7 separate regions of the Homo sapiens genome follow, and regions 2, 3, 4, 5, 6 and 7 are each linked to region 1. Evidence: promoter capture Hi-C in human tissues and cell types (Jung and others, 2019). All regions are on one chromosome and are shown on one strand. Each heading gives the region's core, a stretch centred on a gene start or on the middle of the fragment in contact. The rest is flanking DNA. Distances are from core to core; before and after follow the strand shown.

What was found. The method cuts DNA at HindIII sites, captures the fragments that hold promoters and counts their contacts. A contact is called where the count stands out against the background at its distance.
Region 2: a fragment that was not itself captured here is called in contact with the fragment with the promoter of SYT1 in region 1 in 1 of the 25 tissues and cell types used here (dorsolateral prefrontal cortex).
Region 3: a contact is called between a fragment that was not itself captured here and the fragment with the promoter of SYT1 in region 1, in 2 of the 25 tissues and cell types used here (dorsolateral prefrontal cortex and hippocampus).
Region 4: a fragment that was not itself captured here is called in contact with the fragment with the promoter of SYT1 in region 1 in 3 of the 25 tissues and cell types used here (dorsolateral prefrontal cortex, lymphoblastoid cells and mesendoderm cells).
Region 5: a fragment that was not itself captured here is called in contact with the fragment with the promoter of SYT1 in region 1 in 1 of the 25 tissues and cell types used here (dorsolateral prefrontal cortex).
Region 6: a fragment that was not itself captured here is called in contact with the fragment with the promoter of SYT1 in region 1 in 2 of the 25 tissues and cell types used here (dorsolateral prefrontal cortex and lymphoblastoid cells).
Region 7: a fragment that was not itself captured here is called in contact with the fragment with the promoter of SYT1 in region 1 in 2 of the 25 tissues and cell types used here (dorsolateral prefrontal cortex and mesendoderm cells).

The regions. Positions count from the first base shown.
Region 1 is chr12:78,863,524-78,867,385 of GRCh38, forward strand. SYT1 (synaptotagmin 1) reads left to right here and starts at 1,251. Exons shown (of 11, transcript NM_005639.3): 1 at 1,251-1,586. RefSeq lists a silencer at 35-94. The HindIII fragment of the contact is 3,235 bases long and covers 1-1,615 here.
Region 2 is chr12:78,411,422-78,415,153 of GRCh38, forward strand. No RefSeq gene overlaps it. Among named protein-coding and RNA genes, the nearest start is that of LINC02424, 54 kb to the left of the region's middle. The HindIII fragment of the contact is 8,122 bases long and covers 1-3,732 here.
Region 3 is chr12:79,364,945-79,368,377 of GRCh38, forward strand. All of the region lies in intron 9 of SYT1 (synaptotagmin 1), which reads left to right. Among named protein-coding and RNA genes, the nearest start is that of MIR1252, 53 kb to the right of the region's middle. The HindIII fragment of the contact is 5,891 bases long and covers 1-3,433 here.
Region 4 is chr12:79,339,478-79,342,883 of GRCh38, forward strand. All of the region lies in intron 8 of SYT1 (synaptotagmin 1), which reads left to right. Among named protein-coding and RNA genes, the nearest start is that of MIR1252, 78 kb to the right of the region's middle. The HindIII fragment of the contact is 5,061 bases long and covers 1-3,406 here.
Region 5 is chr12:78,352,165-78,356,014 of GRCh38, forward strand. All of the region lies in intron 1 of LINC02424 (long intergenic non-protein coding RNA 2424), which reads right to left. It overlaps LOC105369859 (a long non-coding RNA gene), which reads left to right. Exons shown (of 3, transcript XR_945130.2): 3 at 353-522. Among named protein-coding and RNA genes, the nearest start is that of LINC02424, 5.7 kb to the right of the region's middle. The HindIII fragment of the contact is 3,570 bases long and covers 435-3,850 here.
Region 6 is chr12:78,372,254-78,376,070 of GRCh38, forward strand. No RefSeq gene overlaps it. Among named protein-coding and RNA genes, the nearest start is that of LINC02424, 14 kb to the left of the region's middle. The HindIII fragment of the contact is 7,939 bases long and covers 1-3,817 here.
Region 7 is chr12:78,389,022-78,392,935 of GRCh38, forward strand. No RefSeq gene overlaps it. Among named protein-coding and RNA genes, the nearest start is that of LINC02424, 31 kb to the left of the region's middle. The HindIII fragment of the contact is 4,254 bases long and covers 1-3,498 here.

The sequences.
Region 1 (3,862 bases), core at 1-2,500:
GATAATGGACGGGCCCCTCTCCCAGCTGGGCTCCGCTCCCGCCCCTAGCCTGGCGCGCGGTCCCTTCCCCCACCCGCTGAGCCTTCCTGTTCGGTATTTCGGTATTACCAAGCTATAAATTGCCTGAGAGCTTAGAGACAATCAGGTCACCACCGCCCTCACAAGAGAAAAGCTTCTTACTTCCGAGCAGAACGGTTCAGCTGGGAAGAGAGGAAGCAGGGAGAGAATCTATGCTTTAGTCGTCACTGCTCTGGCAAGGGGTCGAGAGAGATGGGGGAGGGAGGTGGCAAAAAATAAAAATGAAAAAATAAAAAAGCATCTCCAACAATGTTGCACTTGACCCAAGTGTACAAACTTATTGGTCGCTGCAATGGAAACTCCCAGTGCACTCTCCACGGCCTGGCAGCCGCCGCTGATGGGTGGAGTCGCGCTCCCGGCCCCACCTATGGGACGGAGCTGCTTCTCCCGCATCTCGGCTCCACCGCACCCTTCGCGGGAAGTCCCCAGGCTTCCAGCAAAGCTCAGCTTATCCCGCCCCCGCTTCCAACCCGGAACCCCAGAAGAACAGCATGATGAGCCTCCGGCAGCCAGGTGGGCCACCTCCCCGCGGCTCAGTTTGAGGACACTTGTGCGGAACCCTTTCACATCCCCACCCTACCCAGCTTTCACAACTCCGCCGGGTTAAATGGCCAAAGACAAACTTCTACCTCTCCTGTCCCCGGTCCCAGCTTTTCAAAAACCCACAGCTGGCGAACCCACACACATCGAAACTCCTAGGTCGCTGTTGCAGTCTGGGCATGCTCAGTATCAGGGTAGGTTTTGATTGAGAGTAAAAAAAAAAAAAAAAAAGCTTTGTATTATGCTCTCTTTCTCCTGTGCATACTGCTTGCTGAACAGCTTGTGGGGCATTCCTGAGTCTACCTAGAGGTTTTATCAGACGCCCTTGATTGTGTCTCCTTGGGATCTGTTCCCCTCTTACTTCACCCCCTCCCCCAACCCGCCTCCACCCCGCTTCCCAGGTCCCTGTCCGCTGTGGGGATGGAGAGACACTAACAGAACTGGGATGGGCGATGTTGGCTGAACGGATCCACCTATTATTAGTGCGCGGGGATTGGCTCCTTGGCGCAGCGTACCCGAGGTGGAGCCAATCAGGATGCTGGGGCTCGGAGATGATGGGCGGCCGCCTCCTCACTGGAGGGATTCCTGGAGAAGCTGCAGTGTGGGGATGCTCTAGACCGAGTACTGCCCCCAGTGTCTTTCCACCTCCTCCTGCAGCAGCGGCAGCGGCAGCAGCAGTTAGCAGCGGCAACTTGAGGCTGCACCCCGGGCAAGTCCCCAGGGTGGTGCTCAGCCGAGAGGGGGGCTTGGCGCCCCGAAGGGGTGTGTGTAGGGTGGGGGCGACCACGTGGGACCAGCTGGTGGCCCTGGAAAACCTCCCACACACCCACACCCACACACCCCTTTTGTGTTGCAGGCTGCCCCTCCAAGAGCGGAGGCAGCGAGAGTACGCGTGTGCCTCGCGCCGGTCCACGCGGGGAGAGCACTGGGGACCGAGACCCGGCACCACCTCCCGGTCCGCCCTCCAGGTAAGGAAGCGGGACTGGCGGCGCGGCCACCTCGGCGGTGCCTATCTGCTCGAATCCATCCCAAAGATTTTCTTCTCGATACACTTGGGTTTTAGTGGTGGGAGTCTGAGACCTAGGGAGGGATCCCCGGGTGGCCTATTGTGAGAAATATGAGACTACATGTGCATCTCCTGGAAAAGCACTTTGCACAGCGCCCGTGATTTAGAGCCTGGAGTTGATGTTGGGCATCCCCCATCTTCTTGCTTCCTCTTTCCTTCTCTTGTTCTCTCTCCTCCGTCCCCCACCCCCAATCTCAATCTTTTCTCTCTTTCTCTCCCACACCTCCCCTCTCGCCCTCCTCCCACCCTAAGCACGCACAGCGTTTCTTTCTCCTCCTGGAGAGGATTGCCTTTCTTAGAGGAAAGAGGGGGAGTGAAGAAAGGAGAAAGATTTCTTTCTGTTGGGGAGAGGGATATGGGGGGGGGGGGGAACGTAAACAAGATAGAATACAAGCTCTGCGAAAATCAGAGCACATAAAGCAATTAAACTGAATAAGGGGAGTAGACAACCAGTCCAGCTTGGGCTGTCAGAGAGAGGAAGCGTCAAGTTTGACTTGATTTCCTCCTTGCAAGAGTCTATGTCTCTCACTTGATTCGTTCAAATGGAACAAAAATAAACCGACAATCCAACCCACTTTCAACTGCTTAATTGCTTTTGCTTTTGAGTGCCAACCATCTGACTTTTCCTGTTTCCATCTGTCCTGTGGGGCTAACAATTTGGTATTGCACATCAGTGTTAATATCTGAACTTTGAAAGCTTTCTTGAGTAACAAAAAAAAAAAAACAATTAAAATAGATTATTACTTTCCTGAGGTTTCTTGGTATGGCCTGTTGTTGGGGGATCAAAAAATGTAAAGTTTCAAAACATTTGCAAGGGACAACAATTTTATAGGGAGGCTTGGATTTCTACTTTGAGAAAGCTAATCTTCTAGTTAGCTTTGTGTACATGTTGATATTCACTTTCTCCAGTATTAACCCTTTCGTGAAATAAAGCAACTGTTTAACTTTTGTATGGAAGCTACATTTGTGTAGAATTTTCACTTTATTCTACCTTTGTACTATTTGCATTTTATTGTCTGGATACCAAACTTATGCCTGGCTTTATTTTCTTTTAATAGGACAATATTTAATGGATGTAAACATGATGTTTATACAATTTCAGCACTCCCTTTAGAAGGCACATGGAGGCTCAGTTGGACAAGAATCCTCCTGTACTGGAACTAAGTTTAGAAAGTAATGCTAGAAAGATACCCTAAATTTTAAAAATCCTGAAGGGGAAAACATTTTTGTAACGTCTTGTTAAAAGAAAGAAAAATATATCAAAACACCAACATGCCCCTGGCTGCCTGCATAATAGGTCAAGTAAATGGTACTTGTTGGACAGAGCCTTTACAGCAGCTTCAGCAGTCTCTAATTCCATCATTGGGGATATAAGCTTTCTTTTCTTATTATTCTTCAGGGACAGCTAAGCGATAGTACTGTCAGATGGAAGGAGGTATAGAGAAATGCCTCGTTTGATGTAATAGGAAAGCATTCCAAGTGGGTCTTACCTGAACACAGAGAAATCCACAGATGTTAGTATACAAAACACTTCTTTTTATTTATCAGGGGAAATGCAGAGTCTTACTTTTTTTTGTCTAGAACTCCACTTGATATAAGAAAAGAGAATCTTCTATCTTAACTGTGTCTGACCTTCCACACTAATTTTGTATCTCAGAGAGTATTTTTTCACTACGTACGTTTAATATATAAGTTTACACACCAACTTAGAGAAGAGCTGAATTCATTTGCCATCAGTGTAATGTGTACTATTTTCCAAACCATTTTGCATTTGAGGCAATGATCTCTCCCTAAATAGAATTACCAAGTCACGAAAAACGATTTTCTTTCTAGGGCTTTGACATTTAAATGAAAAAAAAAAAAAAATAGTGTCTCTGTTGAAAGCTAACTCTGGTTTTTAGAGGTGCCACCTTTTGGTTACAAGGACAAAGGGACAATCACTTAATTACCTCACATGTATGTACAACTGAATTAACAAGTTTAGACATGAAAAGATGTACAAAAAGGAAGCCAGCTGCCTTCATGTGAGAAAATTAAGATTTTGTTTTCTCATTTCTCCACTGTCTTAGGAATATGTGAAAATTTAGGCTTGGTTTGTGACATTTATTTTCATGACTCTTTACAAATGTTAATTATAGAAATAACATCTAAAAATATGGATATGAGTAGTTTTTCAAA
Region 2 (3,732 bases), core at 810-3,309, 450 kb before region 1:
TATACTGATTCCTGGCAGAGCAAGAAAAGCAGCTCCGTTTTCCACAGTGGCTGAATTAACTTAAACTCCCACCAGCAGTTTGTAAGTGTTCCCTTTTCTCTGCAACCTTGCGGCATCTGTTATTTTTTGACTTTTTAGCAATGGCCATTCTGATGCGATTTCTCAAAGAACTTAAAACAGAATTACTATTCCACCCAGCAATCCCATTGTTGAGTATATACCCAAAGGAATATAATTCATTCTACCATAAAGACACATGCATGTCTGTTAATCATGCATCATTCACAGTAGGAAAGACATGGAATCAATCTAAATGATCATCACTGGTAGACTGAATAAAGAAAATATGGTACATATACATCATGGAATACTATGCAGCCATAAAAAAGAATGAGATCTACTGGAGACTGGAGTGTGGGAAGAGGGAGAAAATCAGGAAAAATAACTAATGGGTACTAGGCTTAATACCTGGGTGATGAAACAATCTATACAACAAACCCACCTGACACAAGTTTACCTGTGTAACAAACCTCATGTATCTCGGAACTTAATAAAAGTTAAAAAATAAAATAAATAATTTTACCTGGAAAAAAAGAGTATGAGATCATGTCCTTTGCAGCAACATGGGTGGAGCTGGAGGCCATTGTCCTAAGCAAACTAATATAGAAACAGAAAACCAAATACTGCATCTTCTTACTTATAAGTGGGAGCTAAACAACAAGAACACAGGGACACAAAGAGGAGAACTACCAGACACTGGGGCCTACTTTGAGGGTGGAAGGTGAGAGGAGGGAGTGGATTAAAAAAATACTTATTGGGTATTATCCTTATTACCTGGGTGACTAAATAATCTGCACAGCTAACTCCAACAACATGCAGTTTACCTATATAAAAATCCTGCACATACATGTACCCCTAAACCTAAAATATTTTATTTAAAAGAAGCTCTGATGAACACAAGTGCAATATCAAGGAGGGAATTGACATGGAGAGACACCCATCCTTGGTGACATATTTAGAAACAATGTCATTTGTGTGGTTTAGAGTTGGTAATTATTACTCATAAGAATTTTCAAACTGATTGACAATACAAAATATATTTGACCCCTCAAGTAATACATTCGTTTCATTGTTTTTTAAAATGTCATTTACATGACTGACTTTAATACCTGAATTTCAAACAAATGCAATGTATGCACTTCTCAACGTAACTGAAAAGATATTGCATGTTTTCAACCATATGAATGGCCCAGTAAGTAGCATTTAAATCAAAATATAGCATTTCTCTCTTGCTTCTGTAATGTTCATATTCTAAAGCATGTTCCATGGGCTAATATGTTATACAAGAACAGGAAGCTGCTGTTTTACATAGAGAATTACTTTAATAGTCAGCTAAGTCAACCTAGAAAACCCCTTCTGGAAGGTTCCACTCAAATGTTACCTCTTTATTGCACTATTCCAGGACTCAGTCATTACTTCTTCTGTGTTTTCCTAACATTTTATATCAAGCTCTTATTATATCACTTATATCATTTATTATTTATATATTTATCTTTTAAACTATGCTTTTTCTTATTCTTAAATATTTGCCTTTTAAAGTTGTTTCTTGGCTGGGCATAGTGGCTCACACCTGTAACCTTAGCAGTTTGAGAGGACGAGGCAGGTGGATCACCTAAGGTCAGGAGTTCGAGATCAGCCTGGCCAACAAAACAGGCTGGTGAGACCCTGTCTCTATTAAAAATACAAAAATTAGCCAGGCATGGTGGTGTGCACCTATAGTCCCCGCTACTTGGGAGACTGAGGCAGGAGAGTCACTTACACCTGGGAGGTGGAGGTTGCCATGAGCCGAGATTATGCCACTTTACTCCAGCCTGAGTGACAGAATAAGATTCTGTCTTAAAAAAAAAAAAAAAAAAAAAAAAAAAAAAAATTCCCAAACTTAATGCTGTTACAACTAGGTTTTAAAGAATGGTCATGAATTGAATAGTAATGGATATAATGGATATCAAACTACTTCGATCATTTAGAAATTTTCTACATTTAATAATCATTTAAGGAAGGGCATAATTACTATTATTCCCAGTTTTCAGGAAAAGAACCTGACAGAGTTTTCTGGTTTTAAATAAAATGCAGTGTGTGTAATGTGTCCAGATTCACATTGCTAGCAATAGAGATTCAGGACTCAGATTTAGCCATTTTGTCCCTAAGACCTTAAGGACAAAATGGCTAAGCAACTGAAATGCAAAAATTTCCAACCAAGAAAAATGTTTATATTTAAATTGAAAGATATGGGTAAAAATAGGATATTCAAATTTTTTAAAAAGGGAAAACATTAGATAAAAATATTAAGACAAGTAAAAGCTAATAAAACATTGAAGAAATTCAAATTAATGTGAGCTGGTTCAGATTTAGACCAATCTGTTTTGTTTTATAAGATGAATACTTTCAAATTTGGGGTGAAATTATTACGTTGTTTTAATCATTTAATTTACACATTCCTTTTTTATTGATACAATAGGAAACATAATGGCCTTATTGAAAACTCAGTTCTATAGTATTATTTTATATATTCCCATGTTGAAATATTACTGGATCATGGAATCAGAAGGAAATGCATTGCCTTATGAGAGATATCTTTGGGTGGAGCAAGAGTGTTTTAACAGGGAATGAAAATGGAAATTAATAAATACCATGAAATTATAAGAGAAATTTTGTGTATATGTGTACATATGCATTTCTATATGTGTACATATGCATTTCTTTGGAAAGAAGTTCCATAGCATTCATGAAATTCTCAAAGTCATTTATGACCACAAAGAAGTCATGTAGAAAAAGGAGCTTTGGAACAAGAGCCACTTAAATCCCATTTACAGACTCCTGTGTGTAAATTGCTTTCATTATGAGGTTGATGAGGAAATTAAATTACATAGCCTATGTAAATAACTGGTTTTAGAAGGTGCATAATAATGCAATATATACTAATTCTCATTCTTCTTAATTACTTGAGGAATAAAGTCCAAATTATTTAGCTCAACATTCAAGAAACGTACAAGATTTTTATTAAGCTTCCTTTTCTGTCTTCATTTTTCCCGTACTCTATTTTCTAGTCAGATGGGATTATTCACTGTCAAGGACCATACTTACCTTCTCATTCTTCTAGTCTCTTGTTACTGTTACTCCTCCAAACTCATTCAATTGATTTCATCTAATTTTTGCCCAAACATTAAGGACTTAATATTAAGACCCATCCTAATGAACCTTTGATAACTGTTCCATGTATATATTTTTTACTCCTCTAAATTCAAAAGCACTTTTTAACCTCTAATGATTTTGAATGTTTTATTTAATAATAAGAATATGCACGTGTCCTGTAACTTCTCTCTTAGGCTATAAGCTCCTTGGGTCAAGGATCACATTTTCCTCAACGTTGTACATACCTAAAACCCAGAAAAAGCTGACTGTATATTTGTGGAATTAATGAATGGTTCTAGTCAATCCCCTATTTGCAGACCAGAAATAAATCTCTAACATCCTAAAGATGTGCACACTGTTATTCTGTACTTTAAACTTACAATAAGCTGTCTAGCATGAATGTTACAGAAATTTAAATGATAGAAATAAAATGTCCCTTTTCTTCACAAAAAAATATAATGAACTGCTTATAACACTTAAGTCAGTGTCTGAGCCTACAGATGCATAAAATGTCCTAAAATGGTTCATATTTTTTACAGA
Region 3 (3,433 bases), core at 495-2,994, 500 kb after region 1:
CACAAATAGCCCTGTGTTTAAATATTTATCTAGAATTTTAGTTTTAAAATTATAGGAAAGCTCAAGAAATAAAGTTAATCCACAACCCCACCACTTCTTTTCATACATAAGTAAAAAAGTAACTCAAATCAGCCCCCTCTAATCCTTTCCCATTCCTCAGAGTTAATTGACTCAAGGAAATAATTTGAAATTTCATATCCTTCCAGGTTTTCTTTCTGCTTATATCAATTCTATACATATATATACAAATATATATACATTTTACAAAATGGGATTTTAAACACATTATTCTGTAATTATTTTTAACCTACCAATATATAATGGAGATCCTTTGGGCCAACATATAGATCTGCCATATCTAGTGGTTGCATAGCATCCCTTTGTTCGAATGTATCATGGTATATTTAGTAATTCTCTTATAAATATAACTATGAGAAAAACTATATAAATTCACTGAAAGACTTCAAATGAGACCTAAATAAATAGAAAAATAACATGCTCTTGGATAGGGAACAATATAGTAAAGATGTCATGCTTCCCAAATAAATGCCATAAATGAATTTGAAAGATGAGTAACACACGAAAAGAAAGCTTTGCCTCACATAAACAGATCAAGTATTAATATCCCTGTAATACAAAGAGTTTCTACATATCAGTGAGAAAGAAAAGCAATAGGAGAAAGTCTCTATTTTATTAATGTTCCTAAAATTTACTTGCTGCTGCTTCTACTACTGGCTGCTGTTGCTGAGAAGTAAAATGTTACATTTATACAATGTCATTATGCATCTAAATAAGAAAGGATTTTAAAGTAAGATGCAATTACCCTAAGTTCAAAATCTAAAAATGTGTTGCTTAAAAAGACAGCCTAGACTGATTGCAAAGAGTACCAGAAAAAAAAAAAAAAAAGCAGGTCATTAGCTTGTAGATTTTCATATTTTCATCAACTATATTTGCAGGAGTCTGAATCCATTAAAACACTCAATCCAGCAGCATTATTATGATAACAACTTGAAAAGATATGTGACAGTCACTAAAAGTCAAAGTAAAAATACATACCGCTATGAAAGTCATTTTGAAGGGAAGTTCCCAATTTCTAGACTTTATAAAAACAATTAAGCATCTGAAAGCTACTTTTACTAAAAGTTGCCAATTCGTGTATCTAGAAAACACTCCTGCATTTTACAGCACTGTCTTTAATGTAGTGAAAATATTGCAAATGAAACTAGCCTAAAGGGCAATAATATATCACAGTATATCTCCAGTTACAGTAATTAGGAATCTATTCTAATCTTACCTGAAAGATATGTTAGTGTTTTATGTTTATAAGGATTTCACCAAAATTTTTTAAAAATAGCTTAGTAGAAGAGATTTTAAAAGAGGCAGTGAATGTTTATGAATTATGCAAGTCTGAACTTTCATTTTAATAACTCCATTAAAATATAAAAACCTTAAAAGCCTCCCATCAGGAATTTAACTTTATAGAAATGCTTTATATGTGCCCTGACCTTGCCAAGAGGCAGGCCTAAGGCATGATTTAACAGTTACTACAAGGCAAAGCCTAATAATAAATACCTATCTGAAAATGCCAGCATTTGTCCCTGCCTCCTTGGCCTCCAGTGGAGTTGCAACTCAGCCATAAACAGGCCCTCTCCTGAGAGACAGCAGGGCGCAGCAGAAAGGGAGCAGCAACTGGCCCTGGAAAGCCTGGATCGGAAGCCTTTAACCTTTCTGATCCTCAGTCTGTTCATCTATAAAACTAGGGTATTAGAGACAGCCATATTGTTGAATAAACAAATGAGATAACATTAGGTGAAAGCTCCAGGTAGAAAGCACTATATAAATATTGGTTATTTCTAAGCAAAAGACAGTTCTTGGTTAACTCTTAATTTTTGTCACCATATCCTGGCTCCAGGAGAATGTGTGTTCCTATATGGCTGATATAAATAATACTGTGTGTGTGTGTGTGTGTGTGTGTGTGTGTGTGTGTGTGTGTGTGTGTGTGTTCAAAGAATGCCTCTTCATTATTTGGATGGCAGTTAACTGCTTTGGCTAACTTATGTTGGCATCCTGAAGCTAACAGCAAATCCTCCTCCCATCTCCTGTAACTTGTGGCCACAAGACCCAGCATATTTTATAAGAAATCAGACCAGTAGTATATTTCTACGATCTTCAGTTTGTTAAGCTATTTATTTGAGTTAAGACACCGAGTTGTCTTCCAAGTACTTCTTTTATGATAACAGATCCAAGACAGACACAGCTAATTTGGGCAACAAGTAGGGACAAAGAGGAAGAACAGAGCCTCTGTCATCCTAATTATCAAGTTAATGCCTGGTTGCTGGACAAACTCTCCCTCTCTCTAAAATGAACCACCGCAAGTTGGAACCTGCTGTTGCAATGTTAATTTGACTAGAAGTGGCAGGACCTGGTCCCAGAGCAGCTCCTGGTTGTCTTTCCAAATAATTTTGCCCCAGGTAATAAATACCTAATTGATGCAATATGAGTCAGTATTTGTTGTTCATTGCTACATAATTGAGTGGTCAAGGTTTCATCTTTCACCTGTCTCTACAAATTCTTAATCTCCACAAGTAGTCAACATTAAAAACAAGAAAGTTACCCATGTAAATTTCTACATGCTTGCATCCAAACACCCTTTGACTCTCTTCAGCTTGCTTTCCTCTCGATGAAATTTCATTTTCCATATTAAACATATCTCCAGGCTGTGCCCATCTTGGCATTTCAAAAAAAAAATAGAAAAACCTGGTTGGATTATACGTCTGCCTTCTCCTTAAATCAGATGAATTGCTCCACTTGCCGGTAGGATAAATAGTTCAGTTAAAGCATATACTAAGAATCTCAGATAAGTAGCTCAGTTAAAACATATACTAAGAACCTAGGTAAGAAATGTGAAAAAAAAATATTGCTTATTAGTCCTACAGCAGAGATGATACCTTTTTTTAAAAAAAAAAATTATTATTATACTTTAAGTTTTAGGGTACATGTGCACAATGCGCAGGTTAGTTACATATGTATACATGTGCCATGCTGGTGTGCTGCACCCATTAACCCGTCATTTAGCATTAGGTATATCTCCTAAAGCTATCCCTCCCCCCACCCCACAACAGTCCCCAGAGTGTGATGTTCCCCTTCCTGTGTCCATGTGTTCTCATTGTTCAATTCCCACCTATGAGTGAGAACACGCGGTGTTTGATTTTTTTTCCTTGCAATAGTTTACTGAGAATGATGACTTCCAATTTCATCCATGTCCCTACAAAGGACATGAACTCATCATTTTTTATGGCTGCATAGTATTCCATGGTGTATATGTGCCACATTTTCTTAATCCAGTCTATCATTTTTGGACATTTGGATTGGTTCCAAGTCTTTGCTATTGTGAATAGTGCCTCAATAAACATACGTGTGCATGTGTCTTTAC
Region 4 (3,406 bases), core at 410-2,909, 480 kb after region 1:
GTATCTGTTCATATCCTTTGCCCACGTTTTGATGGGGTCGTTTGATTTTTCTTGTAAATTTGTTTAAGTTCTTTGTAGATTCTGGAAATTAGCCCTTTGTCAGATGGGTAGATTGCAAAAATTTTCTGCCATTCTGAAGGTTACCTGTTCACTCTGATGGTAGTTTCTTTTGCTGTGCAGAAGCCCTTTAGTTTAATTAGATCCCATTTGTCTATTTTGACTTTTGTTGTCATTGCTTTTGGTGTTTTAGTCATGAAGTCCTTGCCCATGCCTACGTCCTGAATGGTATTGCCTAGGTTTTCTTCTAGGGATTTTATGGTTTTAGGTCTAACATTTAAGTCTTTAATGCATCTTGAATTAATTTTTGTATAAGGTGTAAGGAAGGGATCCAGTTTCAGCTTTCTACATAATGGCTAGCCAGTTTTCCCAGCACCATTTGTTAAATAGGGAATCCTTTCCCCATTTCTTGTTTTTGTCAGTTTTGTCAAAGATCAGATGGTTGTAGATGTGTGGTGTTATTTCTGAGGGCTCTGTTCTGTTCCATTGGTCTATATGTCTGTTTTGGTACCAGTACCATGCTGTTTTGGTTACTGTAGCCTTGTAGTATAGTTTGAAGTCAGGTAGTGTGATGCCTCCAGCTTTGTTCTTTTTGCTTAGGATGTCTTGGCAATGCGGGCTCTTTTTTGGTTCCATATGAACTTTAAAGTAGTTTTTTCCAATTCTGTGAAGAAAGTCATTGGTAGCTTGATGGGGATGGCACTGAATCTATAAATTACCTTGGGCAGTATGGCCATTTTCATGATATTCATTCTTCCTGTCCATGAACATGGAGTGTTCTTCCATTTGCTTGTGTCCTCTTTTATTTCCTTGAGCAGTGGTTTGTAGTTCTCCTTGAAGAGGTCCTTCACATCCCTTGTAAGTTGGATTCCTAGGTATTTTTTTCTCTTTGTGGTAATTGTGAATGGGAGCTCACTCATGATTTGGCTCTCTGTTTGTCTGTTATTGGTGTATAAGAATGCTTGTGATTTTGCATATTGATTTTGTATCCTGAGACTGCTGAAGTTGCTTATCAGCTTAAGGAGATTTTGGGCTGAGACAATGGGGTTTTCTAAATATACAATCATGTCATCTGCAAACAGGGACAATTTGACTTCCTGTTTTCCTAATTGAATACCCTTTATTTCTTTCCCTTGCCTGATTGCCCTCTGGCCAACTACAATTTCATACCATGATGGATGCCATGTTGCCCATTAGGGGGTGAAACAGTGTTTCATATTGTTTTAAAGGACCCATAGAGATCTAAAGCTTTAGCTAAAGGTAATAAATGGTAGAATTTCAAGTACCTCAGCACACTATAGCATAAAGAATCTTTTGACAAGGACACTTTTGGAATTCACTTTTCCCTACTCTCCACTAAAAAGTCACAGTAGTAATTATTTACAAATTCCTCTACTTTCTCTATAGTGGTCCTTCCTAATACATGTTTCTATAATGACACCTACAATTTTATGTTGAATTTTTGTTTATATGCCTGTTCATGCCAGCATTGAAAAAGCTTCTTAGGGCAAAGACATGTTTTAATCATCCTTTGTTTCTAGTTCTTTGTAGCATGACTGGCATATTGAAAACCCAACATAAGGGTTTGACATATAAGACTAAGCTTTACTCATTTTCTACAAACCACAGATTTTTAAGTGGATCACTAATTATACTTCTGAAAACACTGTTTAGAAGTCATTTATTTATTATTAGTATTAATTATTTCAGGCTAGGCTACAATAACAAATAGGCCCAAACACGTAATGGGTTCTGCAAAAGAGAAGTCTTGGCAGGTAGGGCTCTGCTTTATTAAATCTTCAAGGATCCTGTCTCACTGAACCTCTGCCATCTTCAGCATTTCAGCATGTAGCTTCCAAGGTCACTCTGAGGTCACTATCACAGACATAGAAAAGAAAAAAAATCATGGGTAGGAGTTCTGGGGGACTGGGTCTAGGAGTGGTGCACATCACTTCTGTTCACATTCCATTAGCTAGAACCCAATCACAAGACCACATCTAACTACAAGAAAGGCTGGGAAATGTAGTCTAGCTGTGTTCTCAGGAAGAAGAGCGTGGACTTTTGGTAAACTACAGAGACTCTGGCAGTCTCTGCCAGAGTGGAATACTTAATAAATACATTCATTCTTTTTTTTTTTTTTTTTTTTTTTTTTGAGACAGAGTCTCGCTCTGTTGCCTAGGCTGGAGTGCAGTGGCATGATCTCAGCTCACTGCAAGCTCCAACTCCCAGGTTCACACCATTCTCCTGCCTCAGCCTCCCAAGTAGCTGGGACTATAGGCACCCGCCACCATGCCCAGCTAATTTTTTGTATTTTTAGTAGAGACGGAGTTTCACCGTGTTAGCCAGGATGGTCTTGATCTCCTGACCTCGTGATCCACCCGCCTCGTCATTCAGAAAGATGTGAAAGATGAGTGAAAGTTAACTAAGTAAACGGGAGGGTGGCAAGAGGGCAGAATGTCAAGCAAAAGGAACTGTTTATGTGAAGCCTCTGAAAGTGTAGGTGGCGTGGCACAGTTAATGATATAAAGAAGGCTTTCCCCTTGTGGCTGTTGCGCAGAGGGAGAAAGAGGCATTTGATGAGGCAGAGGAATAAGTAGGAAATAGAACTTGAAGATTATTCTAAATGATCATAAGAATTTGGGCCTTTTAACTCAAGAGAGATAGGAGACCTACTTAAGGATTTTAAGATTTGGTTTTTTGATGTTTTGTTTTTTAGAGACAGGGTCTTGCTCTGTTGCCCAGGCTGGAGTGCAGTGCCACAATCATAGCTCACTGAAGACTCAAACTCTCGGGCTCAACTGATCTTCCTGCCTCAGCCTCCTGAGTCACTGGAACCACAGGCATGCACCACCATGCCCGGCTATTTTTTTGTTTTTTGTAGAGATAGAGTCTGGCTTCATTGCCCAGACTGGTCTCAAAATCCTGGTTTCAAGCTATTCGCCCTCCTTGGCCTCCCAAAGTGCGGGGATTATAGGAGTGAGATACGATGCCTGTTATTTAAAAGGTGACTCTGTCAATTGTATTCTAAGAGTAAATTTCAGGAAACCAATTAAGAGGGTATTGGAGTAATCTATATGAGAGATTATTTGATCACATGGTGAAGACTATAAGGATGGAAACAAGTGAACTTATTGAGAGATTTTATGATAAATAAAATCAGAACTCAAAAGAAGTCAATGATCAACGATCAGTGATAATGCCCAGTTTTCTGGCTTAAGCAACCCCTTGGATGCTAATATCATTTGTTGAAATCGAGTGAACCAGATTTAGAAGAAAGATCATAAATTCAGTTTTTGGCATTCGAGTCTAAAACGAGTGTGAGATATTCAATGACTAGTGGACAGTTAGA
Region 5 (3,850 bases), core at 970-3,469, 510 kb before region 1:
TTACAAAAAAGGTTAAAATAATTGGCATTTAGCCTGGAAAGGAGCAAAATGATTACTACCCTCAAATTGTATGTTAAGTCCTTTTTTTCTCTTGATGTGATACTGAGGTAGACTGAAAAAACAAAAAACAACCGAATAACCTTTCAGAGGACTATTACCTATTCAATACAAATGTGTAGTTTTTGAAAGCTGCTATGAACCAGGCCCTAGACCAGGTAAATAAATCGTAGTTCTTTCCTTTACGAATTTCACAGACTTGATACAGGGTGAGGATGGTTGTATTCCTTAGAATAAAGGCTAAGTTGCTTTTACAACTTAGTACTATAAAACTGGATTTTTTTTTTTTTTTCAGTTAATAGTCCAGTCAGTCAGAGCTGGTGAAGTAGACTTGCTGTAGAAGGTGTGAAGGCCCAGTCCTCCCTCCACGTTTCTCCACCCTTGAAAGGTCGTGTGCATGTCTGTTCACCCATGAAAGAAGAGGAAGACACCAAATGGATGGCATTGATTTCATTTTAAGTAAGTGAGGAGTAAGTTACCATTAAGCTCAACATTCCATTGTTCTGAATTTAGTCATATTAGCATGCCCAGCTGCAAGGAGGGTTGGGAAATATTGCCTCTAGCTGAGCAGTCATATATTCAGATACAATCATTTTATTATGGAAGACAGAAAAATGAGGCCGGCTGCAGTGGCTCACGCCTGTAATCCCAGCACTTTGGGAGGCTGAGGCGGGCAGATCACGAGGTCAGGAGATCGAGACCATCCTGGCTAACATGGTAAAACCCCGTCTCTACTAAAAATACAAAAAAATTAGCCGGGCATGGTGGCGGGTGCCTGTAGTCCCAGCTACTCGGGAGGCTGAGGCAGGAGAATGGCGTGAACCCGGGAGGCGGAGCTAGCAGTGAGCTGAGATCGCACCACTGCACTCCAGAGCCTGGGCGACAGAGGAAGACTCCGTCTCAAAAAAAAAAAAAAAAAAAAAAAAAAAAAAAAAAAAAGAAAAGAAAAATGTTGGGAAACAACTAACAGTTTTCCACAGATATAAAATATTAGCATATCAGTATTTTCATTCTTAAAAATTATCTGGAGAGCAACTAACAATGCCGCTGGATAATTAAGTTATACATTTTCTACAATCAGAAGGGCGAGAAGAATCAACTCTCTAGATCTCGCATACACTATGGTATATATATAAGCATTGGAGTTGTATTTTAGTCATTTCTGACTACTCGTTTTTAAAATCTTTTAGTCCCTGAGGATTTCTATCTGTGCAGATGTATAGACAATCTGACATTTTTGAAATTTTGTAAGTGCAGCATAAAATCAAAGAAGGAAGTTGGTTTTGGGCCTCTATCTTCACCCATTTGCTATGAGGCTTCTGGTCCTGGGGAAGCCTTTTCCCCTAACCATTGAAGAGTTCAAGTTGTGATTCTCTTCATCTCTTCTCATAGACAAAGCACTTGAGTCACCATATTTTTATCATCTAATTAAGCTCCAGCATAAGATTTTATCGAAATCTCCCTATAATAGTTATTTTTCATCTACATATTTTTGTATTTAGTTTAAATTAATCTTTTCTACAATATCCTGTCTGATCCTGACATTGTACGCAGTGCGCTGGCAAGGTCTTATGTGATTTAATAACATTGCCTGGCTCAGGATGAATTTAGTTCAGTTCTTACAGTTCAAGTTCCATAAGGCATTGTAATAACTTTATAGTATATTGCAAGACTATTAAAATAATCACTCCAGGCTGGGCGCAGTGGCTCATGCCTGTAATCCCAGCACTTTGGGAGGCCGAGGTGGGCGGATCACCTGAGGTTGGGAGTTCGGGACCAGCCTGACCAACATGGAGAAACCCCGTCTCTACTGAAAACACAAAATTAGCCGGGCATGGTGGCGCATGCTTGTAATCCCAGCTACTTGGGAAGGCTGAGGCAGGCGAATCACTTGAACCTGGGAAGCAGAGGTTGCGGTGAACCAAGATCGCGCCTTTGTACTCCAGCCTGGGCAATGAGAGCGAAACTCCGTCTCAAATAATAATAATAATAATAATCAGTCCAAAAATCCAGGCTCTCCAGAGTCCTTCTAATGAAATTGTAATTTATTCATGAGTAGACATAATTTGAAATAATAGATCACATCCTGCATCATCCTGTGTTATTATATTTTGCACATTAATATATATGTCCTTTAACTTACTGTATCTCATAACAATATGAGTTTCAATATCTCATATTGAAACATCACAAATATTTGTTATTAGATTAAATAAATGAACAAATACTTATTAGATCTATTATATTGAGTGATCAAATTTCATTTTATCTATCTGTAAAACATAGAGATTTTCAAAAGCAATTTTATTCACACAATAGACTCTTTTGCATCAAATGGTCAATTAATTTGACTAATCTTTTTTAAATAAAAATATTCTAGTAAATTCAAACAAAATTAATTTGACTGCTTTTTGTCCTGATTGACTGATCGATTAGTCATTTGACCCAAAGTATTCATATTGATTTCTTGTTTAGTTAAAGCCCGTGTCTCCTAGAGTCCCAGTTCTACTAACTTCCATCTAATAAAATCATTTCTTATACTGTCTTAATATATTGAGACTCAAATTATGTAGTAGAAAATAATTTAGTCAATCAGATATCTGTGGCTAAAATATGGTATGCTGAACTTTACATATTCAGAAATTATAGCCTTAACACTTGTAAGACTATTTTAAATAATCACAGAAAATAAAATGTAATATTCTGGATACATAACTAAAATTATACATACAGAAAAATTCAATTTGCCTCTTTATGCACAGTTTAAGTGATTCTTTGCAAATTTATTTGGTTATTTTTAGTATAGCTATAACAAATTTTCAAATAATTGACTCAGGTCTGTCTCTACAATATCCAGAATATCTGACTGCCACTCATTTTCTCCATCTTTTTGATTTATTGACAATTGCCTAGATTAATACCAATATGATTGGAATAATTAACTCTAGGCTTCAATGCCAACTCTATAAATAACTGCATTTTTATATCTCTGATACTTTAGCAAATGGAAATATGGAAAACAGTACATCTGAAGCATAGCAAGACTTTTAAGAAGATTTACCGTAAAAACCTCAAGTTTAAGCTTTGAATATCAGCAAAATTAAGATAAGTTTATAAATGATTAAAAATAATTATAACCATTGCTAGTAAGAAAGAAGTGTTTAGTCAGGAACTAGAGAGGTCTACCCTATCCAATATTGTTTCTACCTATGGAGACTTTATAGGCATACTAACAAAATTCTTGATAAAGGATGTGAATTTTAAAATGCACTATATTTCCATACGAAGATGTCAAAATACCTTCAACGTCTTTTGTGCTTGTTGACAAAAAGAGTGAAATTCTGTAAAATACTTTTAGAGATTTATTCTGAGCCAAATATGAGTGATCATGGCCCGTGACACAGCCCTCAGGAGGTTCTGAGATCATGTGCCCAAGGTGGTTGGAGTACAGCTTGGTTTTATATATTTTAAGGAGGCATGAGACATCAATCAAATACATTTAAGAAATACATTGGTTTGGTTCAGAAAGGTGGGACAAAGCAAAGTGGGGGCTTCCAGACTGTAGATAAATTTAAGCATTTTCTGGTTGACAATTGATTGGGTTTGTCTGAAGACCTGGGATCAATAGAAAGGAAATGTTCAGGCCAGGCACGGTGGCTCACGCCTGTAATCCCAGCACTTTGGGAGGCCGAACCAGGCAGATCACCTGAGGTCAGGAGTTCGAGATCAGCCTGACCAACATAGTTAAACCCCATCTCTACTAAAAATACAAAAATTAGCCTGGCGTGGTGGC
Region 6 (3,817 bases), core at 350-2,849, 490 kb before region 1:
CTCTGGTCTCCTTAGTTTGCTTTGTTTTCCCATAGAATTTACTACCACCTGGGCTAGGTGGAGTGGCTCACACCTATAATCCCAGCACTTTGGGAGGCTGAGGCAGGTGGATTGCCTGAGGTGGGGAGTTTGAGACCAGCTGACCAGCATGGTGAAACCCCAACTCTAGTAAAAATACAAAAATAGCTGGGCGTGGTGGCAGGCACCTGTAATCCTAGCTACTCGGGAAACTGAGGCAGGAGAATCCCTTTAACCCGGGAGGCAGAGGTTGCAGTGAGCCGAGATCACGCCATTGCACCCCAGCCTGGGTGACAGAGCGATACTGTGTCTCAAAAAAAAAAAAAAAAAAAAGAATTTACCACCACCTGAAATATTATCTATTTGCGTTTCTAGAAAAACAACTAAGACATAAGCTCTACAAGGATAAAATAATAATTCACAATATATCTCCAGGGCCTAGGATAGTATTTGAAATAAAATCAGCATCTAAGAAACATTTATTGATCGAGCGAATGAATGAAGGAATGAATTAATTTGACTACTGCCAGGTTGGTCCAGGGGCAATGCACAAGGTGATCAGAAATTAAAGGTTAATATTTGTTACTGTTGTAACAATCCTGCCTTGCCCCTGCCCCACTGCCCATAGAGACACATGCTTCAATCTGATTTGGGAGGGATTTGAATATATCTAAATGTGAAAGAAAGAATCCCATTTACATATAAAAGTATATGATTCCTATGATTCCTCTTATAAAGGAATAATTAATAGCAAAAAAGAATAATACAAAAGAGAGACAGTCACTCTGGGACTACCCTGCACTGCCTGATAGAGTGGCAACAGTGTCCAGTAGGACCCCATGGGACCCAGATGACATGGAGACAATACCAGTTAACAAGCATTCTAATTGTGTACAGAAATATTACGTATGGTGAAAACAAAAGCCTGACTGAAGTTCTGAGACTACATGATCTATTAAGGGCTTCACTTTTCTGTCATCAAGTGTGCCTGCCTCTCTGTCATATGGAGACACATAAACTATGCTGATCTTTTCTTTCAAATATTTATACATTGATTTATATATAGTTGTACTTGTATTCTTTATAGATGTTAGCAAATTTTGTCAATGTTTCACTCAGATATAAAATTTAATATTTAATTATTCTCCTCCTTTCTCATGTAAGAAATCTTTTCTGGTCTTGATAACTTATACTGGCCTCAAAAGATATATATTTTTATAGGTTATCTCTAACCACATATTTTACATATGAACACTGAGTGTTTCTGTGGATGAATATGCAGATAGGCTTTTTGATGGTTGTGGTCTTCCACTGTTTCTCAGCTGGTCACTAAAACCTAAAACAAAGGCAAGTAAGTGCCACTATCCCCTTTGTTTATATGGTGTTTGCAGTCTACACTTCACCTTTAAAAAAATTAAATACTTATGTTTGCCAGGCATCACTTGCCACCACTTTATGGCAGGAAGCAAAACAAAACAAAACAAAAAACAGTATACATCTATGTTATTATTCAATTGATATAATTTTTGGCATTTTAAAATTACATTATTTAGAAATCTAAATTGAAATTTAAACACAAAAAATTGATTAGCTGAAAAGAGGAAAGAGCAAATTGATGTAACAAGCAGTATCAGCCATTATGGAGCCATGGCTTAGCTATTCATTTCCTCAACTCTCTTGTATGTCTGTATGCCCCTACTTTTGTTTCCTAATTTAGAGGTTGGCTGGTTCTCTCTGTGAACATCTCCACTGTCTTTCCCTTTCCATGTATCTTTAATACAGCTCCTAGAAAAATCATTCTACGTCACTGTAGTAAACATGCATGTCTCTGCTAAAAATTCTTTGATAACGCGCCATTGTCAATCAAATAAAGCCCCATTTCCTAGCATGAAATTCAAAGCTTTCCTGACTTCACCCCACTGAGCTTTTATCTCTTGGTACTATTATCCCTCTGTGTTACTTTGTCCTCAAACCAGGTTATTCATTTTTCTCTCTCGATGACCTAAACTTTTTTCAAAAATCTCTGTGCTATGTCCCTACTGTTTTCTCTGCCTAGAATGTCTGAGTCCTATTCTTCCTTTAAAATTGCTACCTCTTTCATGAAGTCTTTCTAACTACCTGGGGTTGGAATTAATTTTCTATAACATTTTAACAACACTTACAACATTTATCATTTTATCCCCATTGTTTATTTCCATTGTGTTGAAAGATAAATTTAGATACCATAAAGTTGTAAAGAGTAGATCTGAGCAGACATCGATTTGTAAATGGGGCAGCCTAAAGACTACAGGCAGTTTGGGGCTCTAGCAAGGAGGCAGGGTACGGAAGGAGTTGGAAGATTTTTATAAGAGGAACACTGAAGCAAGGAAAAGAAAATATTTGATTAATGAAAGTGTTGCAAGTAGCCTTATTTAGATCATTCCAGTGGAAAGTCCCTAGTTCGAAGTTAGTTGGTTATTCCCGATTGTTAAGGTTAAGTTTTGTTGTGCCTTTTATACTGAGTTGTATTTCTGTTTGCTTACTAGGAACCCAGGGCACTGGGGCTGCCTCAGCCTAATTGCCTCTCAACTAATATTTTTAACAACTGTTTATCACATTTCTTGTTAACGAACATGCTTAACCAATGATTTATTCTAATTCATAGCTATCCCTTCTGCAGTACAAGTTTAGACCCTCGAATGAGCAAAACCCTTAAATATTTATCAAACCAGTGTTGATATAGTTATATTTAATATGATGAAGTTAAATAATCTTTCCTCTGTTCATGGCATCCATATATTTGATTTTTTTTTTTTTTTTAACTTCTTTCCTGTCTTTGAAACAGCCTGGCGAGGCATTAGTGCATACATCTCAGTGACAGGCCTTCTGTCAACATTTTCTCACAGAGATCTAATTTTGAATTTTTAATTTCTCAGTTTAGTGCAGTATTGAGTAAAGCTAAATTTTCATGTACAAATAACAAGAATCTTATTTATAAATTAGAATTATGAATTGGAATTAGAGTAATTTTAGAAAATTAGAATTTTATTTATAAATCAATACAAATCAAAATAACACCCACAGATGGTGGTCTCTTTGTTATGTTTCTTACTTTTGGTCTGAGTTTCCTCCTCCATGATATGATGTGGATGCTTCCTGCAGTCATTTCCAGCCTGTGCCTTCTAATATTTTTTTGCCTATTTTAATATCATCTGTGAAGACTCAGTCTAATTTTGCCACTTTTATTCTTATATTTTAAAGTGAGTATTAAAATTGAGTAAGCAATCTGTGATAGTAACACTGTATCCATGAAAGAAATAATCATGTTATTAACCATAAACTCTTTTTCTCTGGAAAACAACAACAGATGGACTCTCAGGTAGGAGCACTGCTCCACATCCATTCTGGATGCACAAGCCACGTTGCCAGCATCACTTCTCATCTGCCTTGAGAACTGAATGAAATTATGGATGTAAAACTTCTTAGTAAGGTCTAAAGCTCTAGTCACATCCAGAGATTAGTTATTAATAGTTTTGTCACTGGATTGACAGTGTGATTATAAGGCCATGACATTTTTGTTTTAAACAAATTTACTAGCAATTAAACATCTGAATGCATTTTTGCTTCTTCAAATAATATTTGGGAAGTTATCCACTAAGTCCAGTGATTCTGATTTGCTCTAAAATGGTTTCAAATCCATTTGAAAATAGAGAAAGAAAAAAATAGAATGAATAAGACCTACTATTTGATAGCATAATAGATGACTATAGTCAATAATAACTTAATTATATATTTTAACATAAAGAGTATAATTGTATTG
Region 7 (3,914 bases), core at 122-2,621, 470 kb before region 1:
AATACTATATTGGCTTAGTGACTAGGTGGCAGGAAGTGAGGACACAGATATTGGACTGGATAGCTGTTGACAATACGTATATTATGGCAAAACATTTTAGAAAGTTGACTTGGAGAGATCTTGGACATAAGACCATTTGCCAACCAAGCCTTTAACTCTTATACTCTTGCTGCCTGCATTGGCTGTTTTGTTTTTAATTTTTAATTTTTTTTCCACATAGCAGAGTCTTACTAGAGAGACAACTCAAGTTAGAACTAGTCACTTGCAAGGTGAAAAGGAAAAAAATGTAGTTGTGGTAAGATAGGCTTTCTGGGGTTTTTATTTTTCTTTACTTGTTTTTGGCCTGTGATCTAAATTGACTAGAGTCTTATGATTCAGGGCTTTAAAAATCAATTCTGACAGAAAAACAAAGGCTTCTGTGCCCAAACTGAGGCAGTGATAAAATGAGTCTCTAAATCAAGAAATAGTCTTAGCAGAAGATAAGTAAGGCTGGACAAAACCATTAAGACTGCCAGACAATAGGAGCCAGCCCAGTGGGAAACATTAGATTAAGAATGTTGCCTTCCTACTAAAACCAATTGTTTTATTTCTCCTTAAGTTGGTCACTATTAAATTGAGCAAGAAGGAAATTGACAGGACATGGAAGCAAGTAACTAAAGGCCAAAGTTTTCAGGCTAAAAAACAACATTGAGATGAGAACTTTGGCTTTATTTACTTGCAACCAGAACTGGTGGAAATAGAGTCTGTGGACCTACCAAAGGTTTTTGCAGTATTGCATTGCCAAAGAAACCTCGGGCCAGGCTTACAAAAGTCTGTCATAGCCTACCCGTTCAGGCAAACTGTGTCTCCCTAAACCTGTACCAACCATCAGGAAGAAGCCTGCCAGCATTCTGAGTCATACCAAGTTGGTAAGACTCTCCAATGTCTACTTCATATCTGGCCATGGAGATAATGGATATGCAAGAACCTCCCTAAAGGCAAAGCCATAAATTCATAGGATAATAACGAAGAAAGGTGTGCAGCAGAGAGTGGTTCAAAGTGCTTCCAGATAGCTTAACATAGGAAATTACTCCACTGCCATGATATTGAATCCAGTTACTGCTGTATTGTTTCTATTCTTCCTTTTTAAAAATTGAGCTTTTTAAATATTATGTCTATCCTGTTATTCACCACTATGGTTTAGGTTGGGGAGCAGGGGAAAGATAACTTTAGCAAGATGCAGGACCTGAATAGATCTTTTCAGTTGTCTCTCTTGGAGGGTGGGATGGGGAAGAGCATGTTTTAATTGTCGTTGAAAAGTGTGACCTAAATCGGCAGTGATGGCAGAGACTGAAGTAGACTTCGATATTCATTCTTCTTTTCTATTCCAGAGAAAACTACCTTTCCACCCAAATTCATGCTGTCATGCATACTACAGAGTTGATATTGGGAAGTAGGTGCTTATCCAGGGACATTTTTAAGCCCCTTTTGCATCTAAATAGGATCACAAAACTGCTTGCCAATGGATGATATAAAAATGACACATTAAATCTGTCATTTCTTGGTGAAGGTGTTTAAGAAACATGAATACTTTCTCCATCCTCTTTTCTTACTTCCTCAACCATGTAAAGAAGAGAACACCTCTCTCACCTCCCCAGCAATGGAACCCATGTATTAAAGATGGCAGAGCCAGTATAAGCCTATTTCTGTTGACAAATGCCAGACACAGATGAGAAATAAACTTTGATTGTGTTTGACCTATTTTTCATTTGAGGAGACCTCTCTTTTTTGTTTTTAAATAGAAGCTAGCATTACCCTAGCCTACACATCTTTTTCCACCTAATAGAATATTAACTCAGCTCATGACCACTCAGCTAAAACTGGTATTTTCCAGTCCCTTGTACCTCTAGATGTGACTGCATAATAAAGCCCTGCCAGTAGGATATGAACTGAATTGAAACGTATAACTTCTATTGCATGAACTTTAAGGCGAGAGTATGACCTTGCTGTAGTTTGAATAACCCATCCAAAACTCGTGTTGAAATTTAATTGCTATTGCAACAGTATTAAAGGGTGGAACATTTAAGAGGTAGTTAGGTCTTGAGGGCTCTGGCCTCATGAATAGACAAGTGCTGTTATTGCAGGAGTGGGTTAGTTATTGTGGAAGTTTGGCCCGTTTTTTTTCTCTCTCACACTCACTTGCCCTTCTACCGTTTTGCCACCTCAGGCCTTTGCCAGATTGGTACAATGCTCTTGGACCTCTCAGTCTCCAGAATCATAAGCTAAATAAACTTCTTTTCTTTATAAATTACCCAGTCTGTGGTATTAATGTTATAGCAGAAAAAAAAGAATATTAAATCATGTCTATCTATTAAATAGTCCCCTCTTTTTTGTTTTTTCCTTTTTGTCATTGATTGAGTGTGGCATGGTGATGGGCAGTGAAGCACCTAGCTTAGACAAAAATGTGGTGTAATGAGGAAGGCCAGACACCAAAAGAGAAGAAACCTAGCTCAACATTCCAGGCCTGATTCTTCCATCTGGAACTTCTCATGAGAGAAATGAACTTCTTTACTTTATATCTCTCTGTTAAAGCATAGGAACACCTGTTCCTGTGCTTAACTTATGCATATATATGTGTGTAGTTGCAGTAAAATGTACTTTTGCTGTGGGTTACAATTTTTAAGGGTATATATTAACTATTCTACTATATTCTCTTAATATTATTTTAATATGATATTCATTCATTTATCCTAAATGTTTTCTTCTTCATGCTACCTCAATGGATCAAGAGCTCATGAACTCAGTGTCTCTCCATGGTAATTATGCTGTCATTCTCCCCTAAAAATAAGATCTGTATTCAATCACTTCAAGTTTAAAGCACTTTGAACCCTCTAGTTTGCAGCCTACTAAAGGCATGGCTAGGGACTAAGGTATCTTACCTGTTATTCTTAGGGTTTGGACAGATGCTAGGAAGCCATGGAGGGATTCCCAGGAAGCTGCAGCTATTCCCTGTGCATAAGAATAAGACCCTTGGAAATCCCATTTATTAGAAAGTATGACTTAGGAATTTTGAATTTTAGTGCAGGTAAAGATGACTTTAGTTCATATCAATGAATTGCCCAATCTTTTAAAAATAGGAATAATACAACATTAATAAATAGATTAGTAAAGGAATGATGTTATTATTACTTACATATAACAAATAGGTTAAAAATTAATGGAAAAATACTAAAATTACTTGACCACATGAAGCTACCTTTTTTGGTTACTTATGGTTTATTTTTTACTTTCCATATAACCCAATGATTAGTTATGTTATTAAGCAAAAACCAACAAAAACCAAATTAACATATTTTAGGTTTTATTTATTATAATGGTAATTATTGACCAAAGTTTTTTATTTCCTTTTTAAAATCAGTGACATCTCTGGACTCTGGGAGATAAATACCAAAAGATTAATAACAAACAAATACATTAGTCTCTAAAATAAGTACAGAAAATTAATCATTGCCACTTACTCTTCCACCTTAATATCTTTATTTGCCTTCCACTGGAGGAATGTATGTAATAGAATCTGAAAATCAACACTGTTGTTGACTTACTTGTACATGTGTTTTGGGAGACTGGGTAAGTGGCTGTTTACCAGGTGGGGAAGCATCTAAGTTCTGATATTGTTGGGAACAGTATCTTGCAGAAGAGAGGACATTCAATTGGGAAATCAGAGATGTATTTCTCTTGGATCTACTGCTAGTTATGTGACAAGGCAAAGTGTAGAAATACTTGCATCTCCATTTCGTCATCTCTGCAATAAGGGAAATATGCTAAATAATTTCTAAAACTCCTTAGGTTCAAATTATGATTTAAAGAAAATAAAATGTAATCAATAAAAGTAAGTAATACATCATCATGACAGAATGCTATTTTAAAGGATAGGG